2 separate regions of the Homo sapiens genome follow, and region 2 is linked to region 1. The links are contacts of gene promoters, found by promoter capture Hi-C in human tissues and cell types (Jung and others, 2019). All regions are on one chromosome and are shown on one strand. The core of a region is centred on a gene start or on the middle of the fragment in contact, and the rest is flanking DNA. Distances in the headings are between cores, read along the strand shown. Region 1 holds the start of OR6V1 (olfactory receptor family 6 subfamily V member 1). Region 2 has its middle 11 kb from the start of PIP.

Region 1 (6,266 bases), core at 1,975-4,474:
CCTTTACCTTTGTCCCCAGGGTGTGTATCTTCTCACAGGAGCCAGATCCCAAGATGTGTCCACCAAGGGCCCTGCCTCTGGAGGCAGATATCTGTTTGATTCCCAGACTTCTCCAAATGATACTTTCTTTGGAGAATTTTAACAAGAGGCTGCTATGGTCCAGGGCCTCCATTCCCTGCCTCCCTAGATCCCTAAACCCTGGATCCACTTGGAGATTTTGTCTGCAAATGGAAACTCTGGATCCAGCCCTGGCTAGGTACCCAGGCTGTCATAATTTTAGTCCAGCTGGGAAAATTCCTTTGTGTTTTTTCCATGATCTCATATTTTTTCCATGGTCCTGGGAGGAGGGGAAGGGCCAGGAGACAGGCACTGCCGAGGTGCTGATCCTAAGCCGTCAGCTGCTTGGGTGTATCTGGGTCTTTATCCATTTCTTTATTCAGATCTTTTTCTCAAATGTTACTTCCTCAAAACAGAGGACATCTCATTATTCTAAGGAGCAACGTCAGTGCCTCAGAAGTCCCCAGAGGGCTCCTTGGCTTCCTGTCATTCCCACAGAAAACACTCTGCTGGAGTCTAAGTTTCCCATCCAGCATAAGCTGAACTGTAAACATCATCAAGACACGAAGGACTTGGAGATGTGGATGAGAGAAAGAGCTGAAAACACTCATCCTTGAGAGAGAATGGACAGAATCAGCACCTTTCCCCTCTGGTCTCCTGAGGGACTTATTTCCCATCTCCCAGCCCCACATCAATGCTGCTGCCCCTGGCTTTGTAGTGACACAGGGTAGGTGCTGAATTAGAAAATCAGCATAAGGACTGGCAGAGTTTTAGCTCACCCAGCAGTGCCACCTCTTCCAAGCTGTGCACAAAGCCCCTTTCCACCCTTTCCAGCCGCAAGACACAACCCAAGGGAAAGAGACTGCATCTCTGATGTCATTCATGTTATAGAGTGAGGCCAGTAGGCAGGTGTCTCCAGGTATGAATGCCTAAGTGAGAGCAGCTTACAAAGAAGACAACAGGCTTGGAGGCTAAGGTGAGGGGGGGAAGTCTGTATGTCAGTCAGGTTCTCATGCAACACAAACATAAGGACTGGGTTTGAATTTAGTCAGTGCTGGGGTAGATTTTAGGATTTTAGACCTACCGTTAAGGCTTGCCAGTGGCATGGGTGCAAGGCTTTATTTATTTATTTATTTATTTATTTATTTATTTATTTATTTTTTATTGTTTTTGAGATGGAGTCTAGCTTTGTCATCCAGGCTGGAGTGTATTGGCATGATCTCAGCTCACTGCAATCCCACATCCCAGGTTCAAGTGATTCTCCTACCTCAGCCTCCCAAGTAGCTGGGATTACAAGTGCCCGCCACCATGCCCAGCTAATTTTTGTATTTTTAGTAGAGACGGGGTTTCACTGTGTTGGCCAGGCTGGTCTTGAACTCCTGACCTCGTGATCCGCCCACCTCAGCCTGCCAAACAGCTGGGATTACAAGCGTGAGCTACCGCGCCTGGCCGGGTGCAAGGCTTTTTAAAATTAGAATGTCATTGCTGTGTGGCCAGGACACAACCCCAAATGAAGCATTTATGGGGCTGGAGAAAGGGCCAGAGTATATCTACACACAGCTTCACTCCTTCCACTCCTGACAGTTTGTGTTGTAAATACTTTGTTTGTGTTTGAAATGTTTTAAAGTACCCTTTTAGTGAACTGAAATTCCAAGAAACAGTGTAAAGCTGTAAAGATCTTCACACACACACATGCTGGCAATGAGAAGAAGTGTAGAGAGATGATGGGCAAAAAAAATTTGAGTTCTATTGACGGTCTAACAATAAGAACAGTGATAACAATAACAACAACGATTTGTTGGCTAGTATGTGCTAGTCACTGCACTAAGTAGTTTACTTATTTAATTTTATAATCACCATAGAGGCTAAGTACCAGTAATACCATTATTTTACAGCTGAATAAACGGGCTCAGAGAGAGTAAGTAACAAAGAAGAGCAGATTTACGGCCCGTGACAAGCAAGTCTAGAGCCAGAATTCAAACACAGGCAAGCCAACTCCATAGCTTACACTTTGCACCACGGCGGGAGGGGAAGTGCAATGGAGACGGCAAAGCAGCACCCTTGGGTAGACAGATTATGCCGTTGGGAAGCCTGATGACTGTGTGTGTCCTGGGAGAGCAGCCACTTGGATTTCCAGGCTCGCTCCCTGACCTGCTGCACCCTTTCTGCTCTCCATCTTTGCAAACACGAAGCAGAGGTCTCCTCTAAAGGAAGTTAATTTCTGGACTCAAAACTCTGACTTTCACTAATTTCATGATCATAGCCGGAGAAATGTGCACAAGCGAGGGTCCTCAGAGAGGCAGCTCAGAAAGGTTTGCAGGGACCCTTTAAAAAGGGTCTTGGGGCACAACCTCTGGGTGTGACATAGACGGATTAGCCTACATTTGGGGGCTTCTGGGTCACATGCACTAATGCTCTCTCTCCCTCTCTTTTTCTGTGTTCCTCCCCTTCCTGTATTTCTCTATTTGAATTTTTTCTGTTCTTTCTCTGGTCCTCTGTTGTTTCCTTCTTGTTTTCTCCCTAAATGTCAATGTCTGTTGCCATGTGGTCTTCCTTAATCTTTTCCTCTGTTTTTCTTTCTTCCCCCCCTTTTTTTTTTTCTTTTTTGAGATGGAGTCTCACTCTGTCACCCAGGCTGGAGTGCAGTGGCACGATTTCGGCTCACTGCAACCTCCACCTCCCAGGTTCAAGCGATTCTCATGCCTCAGTTTTGCAGGTAGCTGAGATTACAGTTGCCTGCACCTGGCTTATTTTTGTATTTTTAGTAGAGACAGGGTTTCACCATGTTGGCCAGGCTGGTCTTGAACTCCTGACCTCAAGTGTTCCCCCTGCCTCGGCCTCCCAAAGTGCTGGGATTACAGGCATGAACCACCATCCCCAGCCTTCTCTCTTCTTAATAATGGCTTTCTATGTCTTTCACTTCTCTCATACCCTCACTCTGTTTCTCCTTGACTCTCCCATTCCTGTTTTGTTATCTTTCTTTATTGCCGTTTCTTTCTGCTTTTCTGTTTATCACTCGCTGGCTACTTGCCTTTCTCTCTCTATTCTCTGTCTCTGTCCCTGTTTCTTCTGTTTCAAGTTCAATGGTTCTCTGTCTCTATCTCTCTGTTTCTGCCTCTCCGTCTGTCTTTTGTTTCTCTTGCATGCAGGGCCCCATACTGTGGATCATGGCAAATCTGAGCCAGCCCTCCGAATTTGTCCTCTTGGGCTTCTCCTCCTTTGGTGAGCTGCAGGCCCTTCTGTATGGCCCCTTCCTCATGCTTTATCTTCTCGCCTTCATGGGAAACACCATCATCATAGTTATGGTCATAGCTGACACCCACCTACATACACCCATGTACTTCTTCCTGGGCAATTTTTCCCTGCTGGAGATCTTGGTAACCATGACTGCAGTGCCCAGGATGCTCTCAGACCTGTTGGTCCCCCACAAAGTCATTACCTTCACTGGCTGCATGGTCCAGTTCTACTTCCACTTTTCCCTGGGGTCCACCTCCTTCCTCATCCTGACAGACATGGCCCTTGATCGCTTTGTGGCCATCTGCCACCCACTGCGCTATGGCACTCTGATGAGCCGGGCTATGTGTGTCCAGCTGGCTGGGGCTGCCTGGGCAGCTCCTTTCCTAGCCATGGTACCCACTGTCCTCTCCCGAGCTCATCTTGATTACTGCCATGGCGACGTCATCAACCACTTCTTCTGTGACAATGAACCTCTCCTGCAGTTGTCATGCTCTGACACTCGCCTGTTGGAATTCTGGGACTTTCTGATGGCCTTGACCTTTGTCCTCAGCTCCTTCCTGGTGACCCTCATCTCCTATGGCTACATAGTGACCACTGTGCTGCGGATCCCCTCTGCCAGCAGCTGCCAGAAGGCTTTCTCCACTTGCGGGTCTCACCTCACACTGGTCTTCATCGGCTACAGTAGTACCATCTTTCTGTATGTCAGGCCTGGCAAAGCTCACTCTGTGCAAGTCAGGAAGGTCGTGGCCTTGGTGACTTCAGTTCTCACCCCCTTTCTCAATCCCTTTATCCTTACCTTCTGCAATCAGACAGTTAAAACAGTGCTACAGGGGCAGATGCAGAGGCTGAAAGGCCTTTGCAAGGCACAATGATGAGCCCAGGGCCCAGGGGAACCTGGCCTGCCTCCATTGAGCAGTTCTGTGGGGAGGGAGACCTCCAGCAAGTGGGAAGAACACTGCTGAGTTTCTTTAGTTTTTTTCCCTCTGAGCAATAACTACAGTGAGCCCTGAGTGCTGCACTGTCTGGCCCAAAGCTCTTATGGACCACCATGGAAGAGTTCCCTACATCCCCTGGCAGCCGTAAGAACTCTGAGAGTAGCCCAGAGCTTTCAGTAAAGGGAAGTGCATGTGCTTTGCATTTAAGGAAGAGCAGCCAAGAAGTGCTCTATGATCAAGAGGTAGTGTCCAATCCCAGTATGTGTGCATGGGTGTGTATGTGTGTACATATGTGTGTATGCGTGTGCATGTTCCGGGTGTGCTTCTCTATCACAGTATGCACTGCTGCTGAGTGTATGCACCATAAGTGCTTGGGCTACATGGGATCAAGAGAAGAAGCAAAACTTACCAAAAACAAACTGATTGTTTTTCAATGTGTGTGTGAGTGTTGGGAGGAGGACTGGGTCCTTGTATAATTATTCATCCATTTATTCATTCATTTCTTCAACATTGAGTAGGCTGTGTGTGTCAGGCACTGTAACAGGTAGAGGGTAGAAAGGTAAAAAAGGCATAAATGGTTCTTAACCTGACAAAGCTCTTGGCCTAAGGAAGGAAAAAGTGATAAATAGCTGTTTCCAGCACAGTGGGGAACGTGCAACAGTGGATTCACAGACGGTATTATGAGCACACAGGGGAGCAACACTGAGACCAGGAGGAGGCTCAGCGACGGCTTCCTGACAAGATGACACCTGAGTAGCACATTGACTATAAGGTGGACACTGTGAGAGTGCAATTCATCAGGTACCTTTGCATCAGAGAAAGATGAAACAGAGAGAAATTAAAACAAGATAAATCTCCGCTAGTGAGGAATTATGTGGTTTCCAGAGAGGAAATATTCAGAGTTTTAGAAAGACAAAATAAACTTTGCTCCTGTATGATTAGAAACATTCATTTGCCTAAAGGCAAGGGATTGTAATAAACCTAGTAAGTTCACTTATTCAGTGATTATATATCCTATTTTACACACATACATATTATATTGTACATTACATAAAATATGAACATTATATTACATTCACATACGTGTGGGTATAAAATTCTTGAAAATCTATTATGTCCCATGCTGCCTTTGGAGTTAAACATCAGCTCCACTGTCCTCCCTCCTCCAACTATAGCCTGAAATTTTTAAAATCTTCCAGTTACTTTGACCTCAGGATCATGGTGTTCCCTTAGCTTTTGCCCATGCAGAATTTTCTAAAGTAGCCCCAATTTAAGTTGTTTTGACACACTGTTTCTGTAAGTACACTTTAATTTACCAAACTCCATATCCCAATTTGTGATATATAAACTACAACCAGGAGTTTATTCGTAGCTACACTTACTTGAAAACAATAAAACTACTAATTTATCACAAATGTCAAGCATTTAAAAAATCCACTATGTGGAAATGAATGAGGTAAGCTCATTTGGAGCTTGAGAGATGCAGCTTGCTTACCAACCCATTGGTTCTCCTTGTGACCTCCTCTTACCCCAAGCTAACTCCTTCCTAAACGAGGCATCCCTTTCTCTGGCTTTCTGAAAGTGTCTTTCTTTCTTGCTGAGATACCCCTTAGCCAAGTCGGAGGGTCTTTTCACATTCCCAGTTTCAGTTTCTGGACCAAAATTTTGCTTGTTCTTTAATTACATAACAGAGCAATGATTCTGTTGTTTGCAGTTGCTATTGAATGAATTGATGTTTTTTTCCTCTGTTTATTCTCTGCTTGCTACCTAGAAAAGTATTTGTAGAGTAAATGAAAGAAGGATGAGTAAATTAAGAATAATTCTACTAACAATATCTTACTTTTGTATACTTTTCATACTTTATGAACCACTTTTACATATATTTTCCATTTGGTTTTACCCTCATAGTAATTCAGTTAAATAAATATTCACTGATCACCCATCATGAGCAAAACACTCCACTCAGCAGTGGCTGTTAAAGATGAAAGAAATGAGGAGTCTGACCTCAAGGGGTTCCATGTACTGAGAGAAATTTAA
Region 2 (6,438 bases), core at 500-2,999, 68 kb after region 1:
GTGGTGTCATCTGCAGGAATAATTGGAGAAGTTGCCTATCTTATAACCTCAAGAATAGTGGCAAACAATCATTCATGTCTGAGTCTTAGCCAGACTCAGCCTCCTCTCCTTCCCCAAGCCTCATGGCCTCCCATTAGCTTTACAAAGCCTGTTAAGTTTTAGGCCTGCTATCATTTAAACTATAGTCTAAATGTCTTCCAAAAGTATTAGATTGGTTCAAAGCTAACTGCAGTTTTGCCATTAAAAGTAATGGCAAAAACTGCAATTACTTTTGCACCAAACTATAGCTTAGGGCGAGGCACAGTGGTTCATGCCTGTAATCCTAGCACTTTGGGAGGCTGAGGTGGGTGGATCACTTGAGGCCGGGAGTTTGAGATCAGCCTGGCCAACATGGGAAAACACCTAATCTACTAAAAATAAAAAAATTAGCCAGGCATTGTGGCGCACTCCTGTAATCCCAGCTACTTGGGTGACTGAGGCACGAAAACAACTTGAACCCTGGAGACAGAGGTTGCAATGAGCTGAGATAGTGCCACTGCACTCCAACCTGTGTGATGGAGCAAGACATTGTCTCAAAAAAAAAAAAAAGAAAAAGAAAAAGTTAGCTTAGCCCTATCGCCCAGGAATAAAGGAAACAGCAAGATGGGGCAGTGGGGTAGTTAGCTCAACTTACTGTTATATTACTCATTGATACAATTTTTGCAAAGGTGGTTTTAGTATGACTCTACACCTTTTGGGTCACCCATTTGTAATCCATTCTACTGAAGGAAGCCAAAATATTACCCTCTAAAACACTTAGGATTGTTGAGCTAAACACAGCTAAAAGGCAGGGAGATTCTCTGCCCTTCTTTTGTTTGCCTAAAGCGAGGACATAAATCCTCCCTTACTGGAGACAGCTGCTTATTAGCCCACTAATGGGCCAGGGGAATCTGTGAGCAGACTTTACCTCTATAAATTTGCCTTCCTATATTTGCCCACCTTTTGGCACTACCCCTATGGGCAGATTTTGTCTTCCTGCTTCATTAAATATCTCTTTAAATTTTTCATCTGAACTCTCTGTGTAGCCAGTCAACTGAGAAGCTGAGACCCTAGAGAATATGGCCAGAGTGATATGGGTTGTACACCCATTTGTAGCTAGCAAAACTTTTCTCTCTTTGAACTTTCTTTGGCATGAATCTGGAATCTTGTGAGAACTGTCCTGCATCTCTTTGGAGAAGGCTCGTTGATCAATGTATTGATTACATCATAACATTGGTTAAAGCTTATTGGTTTTGGTGAGTCACTTGCAAAGATACCTTTGGTTTAAAAGAGGGGGGAAATGGTACAAAAGCAGGAATATTGACTGTTCTGGCTGAAATATGATAAGAGACTTGAAGTTTTTTTTTTAAGATCTCTATAGTCAAAAGTCGATTTAATTAAAAGCTGATATTTAAGATACATATGCATATATACTTTTTAATTGGGCCTCTGTTCTCTATAAAAACTTGTCAGTTGACTAAATTTCTTTCTTCTTAACCCTTTTGTCAAGAAAAACAGTAAAATATTTGAAGAGATTTATTCTGAGCCCAATAAGAATGACCAATGACCCATGACACAGCTCTCAGGAGATCCTGAGAACATGTGCCCAAAGTGGTTGAACTACAACTTGGTTTTATATATTTTAGGGAGACATAAGACGTCAATCAATTAATGTAAGATGTATATTGGTTTAATCCAGAAAAATGGGACAATAGGAAGTGGGGGCCCCAGATCATAGGCAGATTCTAAGATTTTCTGATTGGCAATTGGTTGAAAGAGTTATTGTCTAAAGACCTGAAATCAATACAAAGAAATTTCTGTGTTAAGATAAGGGATTTTAGAGACCAAGGTTTTATCACACTGATGAAGCCTCCAGGTAGCGGGCCTCAGAGAGAATAGATTGTAAACGTTTCCTATCAGACTTAAAGATTCTATTAGTATTTTTTTTGACAGAGTCTCACTCTGTTGTCCAGGCTAGAGTGCAGTGGCGCAATCTCAGCTCACTGGAACCTCCACCTCCTGAGTTCAAGTGATTCTCCTGCCTCAGCTTCCTAAGTAGCTGGGACTACAGGCATGGGCCACCATACCCAGCTAATTTTTGTATTTTTAGTAGAGACAGGGTTTCACCATGTTGGCCATGCTCCTGACTTCATGTGATCCACCTGCCTCTGCCTTCCAAAGTGCTGGGATTACAGGAGCGAGCCACCACATCCAGCCTGCTCTATTAGTCTTAAGGTCTTTGTGTTGATGTTAACACTGGTCAGCTGCGAGGCATGTCCAGTGGCACCCCACTTCCCATCATGGCCTGAACTAATTTTTCAGATTAACTTTGGAATGTCCTTGGCAGAGGGGAGGGCCCATCAGTCAGTTAGGGGGCTTAGAATTTTATTTCTTTTTTATACCTTACTAACTGTATGCACTCCCTTAGTTTGCTTCTGTTTTGTTGACATGATTTGTGCCAAGAATGATGTAAAACTTCACTGGCCTTTTGAAAGCTTAAACTCTTTCTCTGTACTATGAAACATAAATTTCCTACCTTGTTTTGTAAATCAGTAAGGGCTTCAGCCTGTGAGACAGATAAACTTTAACTCGTTCCATTTACAAAGCCACAGTTTGATTCCAACTGTCTTTTTAAACTACTGAGTTTTGCCTGACTCATGGGTAAAATATTAAAATCTGTGAACCCTAAATAACTGAGACAGGTCTCAGTCAAATTAGAAAGTTTGTTTTGCCAAAGCTAAGAAAGCACCCATGACACAGCCTCAGGACATCCTGACAACATGTGCCCAAGGTGGTCAGGGTACAGCTTGCTTTATTTTAGGGAGATATGAGGCATCAATCAAATGTGTAAAATGTACATTGGTTCGTTCCAGTAAGGCAGGACAACTCAAAGTGGGGGTTTCCATGTTAGAAGTAGATAAAAGACAAAAGGCTGCATTATTTTAAGTACTTGATCAGTCTTCCACTGAATACACAATTTAATCTGTCTCAGTGAATCTGCATTTTTACATAAACAATAGGTCAGAGGAAGTAATTAGATATGCATCTGTCTCAGGCAAGCCTCAGAGGGACAATTTTGAGTTCTGTCTGTTCTTTGTCCACAAAGAATTTCCTTGTGGGAAAATTGTGAGGGAGGTATGTGGCTTCTTATCTCTGTAGCTATCTTATTTAGGGATAATAAAATGGGAGGCAGGTTTGCCCTAAGCAGTCCCCGGCTTGCCTTTTCCCTTTGGCTTAGTGATTTTGTGGTGCCAAGATTTATTTTCCTTTCACAAATCAAAACTATAAAATCTTTGTCTGTATTTTTATACTTGTGTAAATGTTTGTGTTTGTATATAGTATACAAGTGACAAAACTGACTTTTAAAAAGGCCCAAATGAACCTTTAAGTTTCTTGCCTTTAGGATACTTGCCTAACATATAGTAATATAAAAATAGTTAATAGAAAATTTAACTTGAGATGATGGCCAAATGTGTCCTATGTCTTATAAACTTTTCCAAACATAATTGTTAAGAGTGAATAAATTAAATAGATGTAAATGGGATGAGTTCATAAATGAACTATTAATACCTATTAAGTTTTATAATATGCTTACTTAAAAAGGTTGTGATGGTTAATTCTGAGTGTCAACTTGATAGGACTGAAAAATGCAAATTATTGATCCTGGGTGTGTCTTTGAGGGTGTTGCCAAAGGAGACTAACATTTGAGTCAGTGGGCTGGGAAAGGCAGACCCACCCTTAATCTGGGTGAGCACCATCAAAATCAGCTGCTAGAATATAAAGCAGACAGGAAAACGTAAAATGACAAGACTGGGACCAGGTGCAGTGGTTCACGCCTGTAACCCCAGCACTTTGGGAGGTCAAGGCAGGTGGAACACCTGAGGTCAGGAGTTCGAGACCAGCCTAGCCAACATGGTGAAACCTTGTCTCTACTAAAAATACCAAAATTAGCCAGATGTGGTGGCAGGCACCTGTAATCCCAGCTACTCAGGAGGCTGAGGCAGGAGAATCACTTGAACCCGGGAGGTGGAGATTGCTGTGAGCCGAGATCGCACCACTGCACTCCAGCCTGGGTGACAAGAGTGAGACTCCACCTCAAAAAAAAAGAAAACAAAACAAAACACTGCACTGGCCTAGCCTCCCAGCCTACATGTTTCTCCCAAGCTGGACCCTTCCTGCCCTCAAACATCAGACTCCATATTCTTCAGTTTTGGGACTCAGGCTGGCTTTCCTTGCTCCTCAGCTTCCAGACGGCCTATTGTGGGACCTTGTGATCCTGTGAGTTAATACTTAATAAACTCATGTATCCTATTAGTTCTGTCCCTCTAGAGAACCCTGACTAATACAAACATTTTTAAAGGTTTTTAAAATCTTTTTGTTAACTATACCCTCAAAATTTGCTATGCTAAATTAAAGGATGGATATTCATTGAATATCTAAATTATCTCTAAATAAGATACAATTCTAAGACATTAATGACTATGAGTTGAAGCTTAAATACTTTTGACTTCTTATTTCAGAGAAACAAAAGATATTTATATTTCTTAGTAAAAATGTCCTGTTTTACATTTTTATCGGGGGAACCAGCCCCCAATATTTCAACATAGGTCCTTTCTATTTTCCCTAACTGTCGGCCAGTCTGAGAAATAAAGAGAAAGAGTACAAAGGAGGAATTTTACAGCTGGGCCTCTGGGGGTGACCTCACATATCGGTAGGTCCATGATGTCCCCTGAGCCACAAAACCAGCAGGTTTTTATTAAGGACTTTAAAAGGGGAGGGGGTGTATGAACAGGGAGTAGGTCACAAAGATCACATGCTTTAAAGGGCAATAAAGATCACAAGGCAAAGGTCAAAGCAAAGATCACAAGGCAAAGGGCAAAATTAGAATTACTGGGCCGGGTGTGGTGGCACACGCCTGTAATCCTACCACTTTGGGAGGCCAAGGCAGGTGTATCACGAGGTCAGGAGATCAAGACCATCCTGGTTAACACAGTGAAACCCCGTCTCTACTAAAAATACAAAAAAAATTAGCCAGGCATGGTGGTGGGCGCCTGTAGTCCCAGCTACTCGGGAGGCTGAGGCAGGAGAATGGCGTGAACCCGGGAGGCGGAGCTTGCAGTGAGCCAAGATCACACCACTGCACTCCAGCCTGGGTGACAGAGCGAGACCATGTCTCAAAAAAAAAAAAAAAAAAAGAATTACTGAGGAGGGTCTACGTTCGGCTGTGCACGTATTGTCTTGATAAACATCTTAAACAACAAAAAACAGGGATCAAGAGCAGAGAAACAGTCTGACCTCAAATTTACCAGGGCAGGATCTTTTCCCCACCCTAATAAGCCTGAGGGTACTGCAGGAGACCAGGGCGTATTTCAGCCCTTATCCCAACCACATAAGACAGACACTCCCAGAGCAGCCGTTTATAGACCTCCCCCAGGAATGCATTCCTTCCCCATTGTATTAATTATTAATATTCCTTGCTGGGAAAAGAATTCAGCGATATCTCTCCTACTCGCACGTCCATTTATAGGCTCTCTGCAAGAAGAAAAATATGGCTCTATTCTGCCCGACCCTGCAGGCAGTCAGATCTTTGGTTGTCTTCCCTTGTTCCCTAAAATCACTGTTATCTGTTCGTTTTCAAGGTGCACTGATTTCATATTGTTCAAACACACATGTTTTACAATCAATTTGTACAACAGCGGTCCTGAGGTGACATACATTCTCAGCTTATGAAGATAACAGGATTAAGAGATTAAAGTAAAGACAGGCATAAGAAATTTTAAGAGTATTAATTTTGGGAACTGATAAATGTCCATGAAATCTTCACAGTTTATGTTCCTCTGCCGTGGCTCCAGCCAGTCCCTCTGTTTGGAGTCCCTGACTTCCCACAACATTTTTTTTTTTTTGAGATGGAGTCTAGCTCTGTCGCCCAGGCTGGAGTACAGTGGTGCAATCTCGACTCACTGCAAGCTCTGCCTCCTGGGTTCATGCCATTCTCCTGCCTCAGCATCCCGAGTAGCTGGGACTACAGGTGTCCGCCACAATGCCCGGCTAATTTTTTGTATTTTTAGTAGAGACGGGGTTTCACCATGTTAGCCAGGAGGGTCTTGATTTCCTGAACTCATGATCATCCTGCCTCAGCCTCCCAAAGTGCTGGGATTACAGGCACGAGCCACCGCGCCTGGCCCTGTTCTACATTTTTAAAGAATGTTCCATTAGAAAGCCTATGTTTCTAAATATTATAAAAATTCATATTCATAAACCGTTGGTATGTGACTGACACTTAAAAATTGCTTACTTCTTAGGTTTTCACTATGAATTAAGGTTACTAGGAGTTAAAATTCTAATTAATACATGGTAACTAGAATTAGGGATAAGAAGGATAACAATTCTATACACAGAATGTACAAAAAACACATAAGA

What was found. Contacts are between HindIII fragments. The study calls those that stand out against the background at their distance.
Region 2: a contact is called between a fragment that was not itself captured here and the fragment with the promoter of OR6V1 in region 1, in 2 of the 25 tissues and cell types used here (H1 embryonic stem cells and heart right ventricle).

Annotation. Positions count from the first base shown.
Region 1 is chr7:143,049,117-143,055,382 of GRCh38, forward strand. OR6V1 (olfactory receptor family 6 subfamily V member 1) reads left to right here and starts at 3,225. Exons shown (of 1, transcript NM_001001667.1): 1 at 3,225-4,166. The coding sequence starts at 3,225. The coding sequence ends at 4,166. RefSeq lists an enhancer at 1-619. The HindIII fragment of the contact is 14,465 bases long and covers 1-6,266 here.
Region 2 is chr7:143,118,114-143,124,551 of GRCh38, forward strand. No RefSeq gene overlaps it. Among named protein-coding and RNA genes, the nearest start is that of PIP, 11 kb to the right of the region's middle. The HindIII fragment of the contact is 3,524 bases long and covers 1-3,511 here.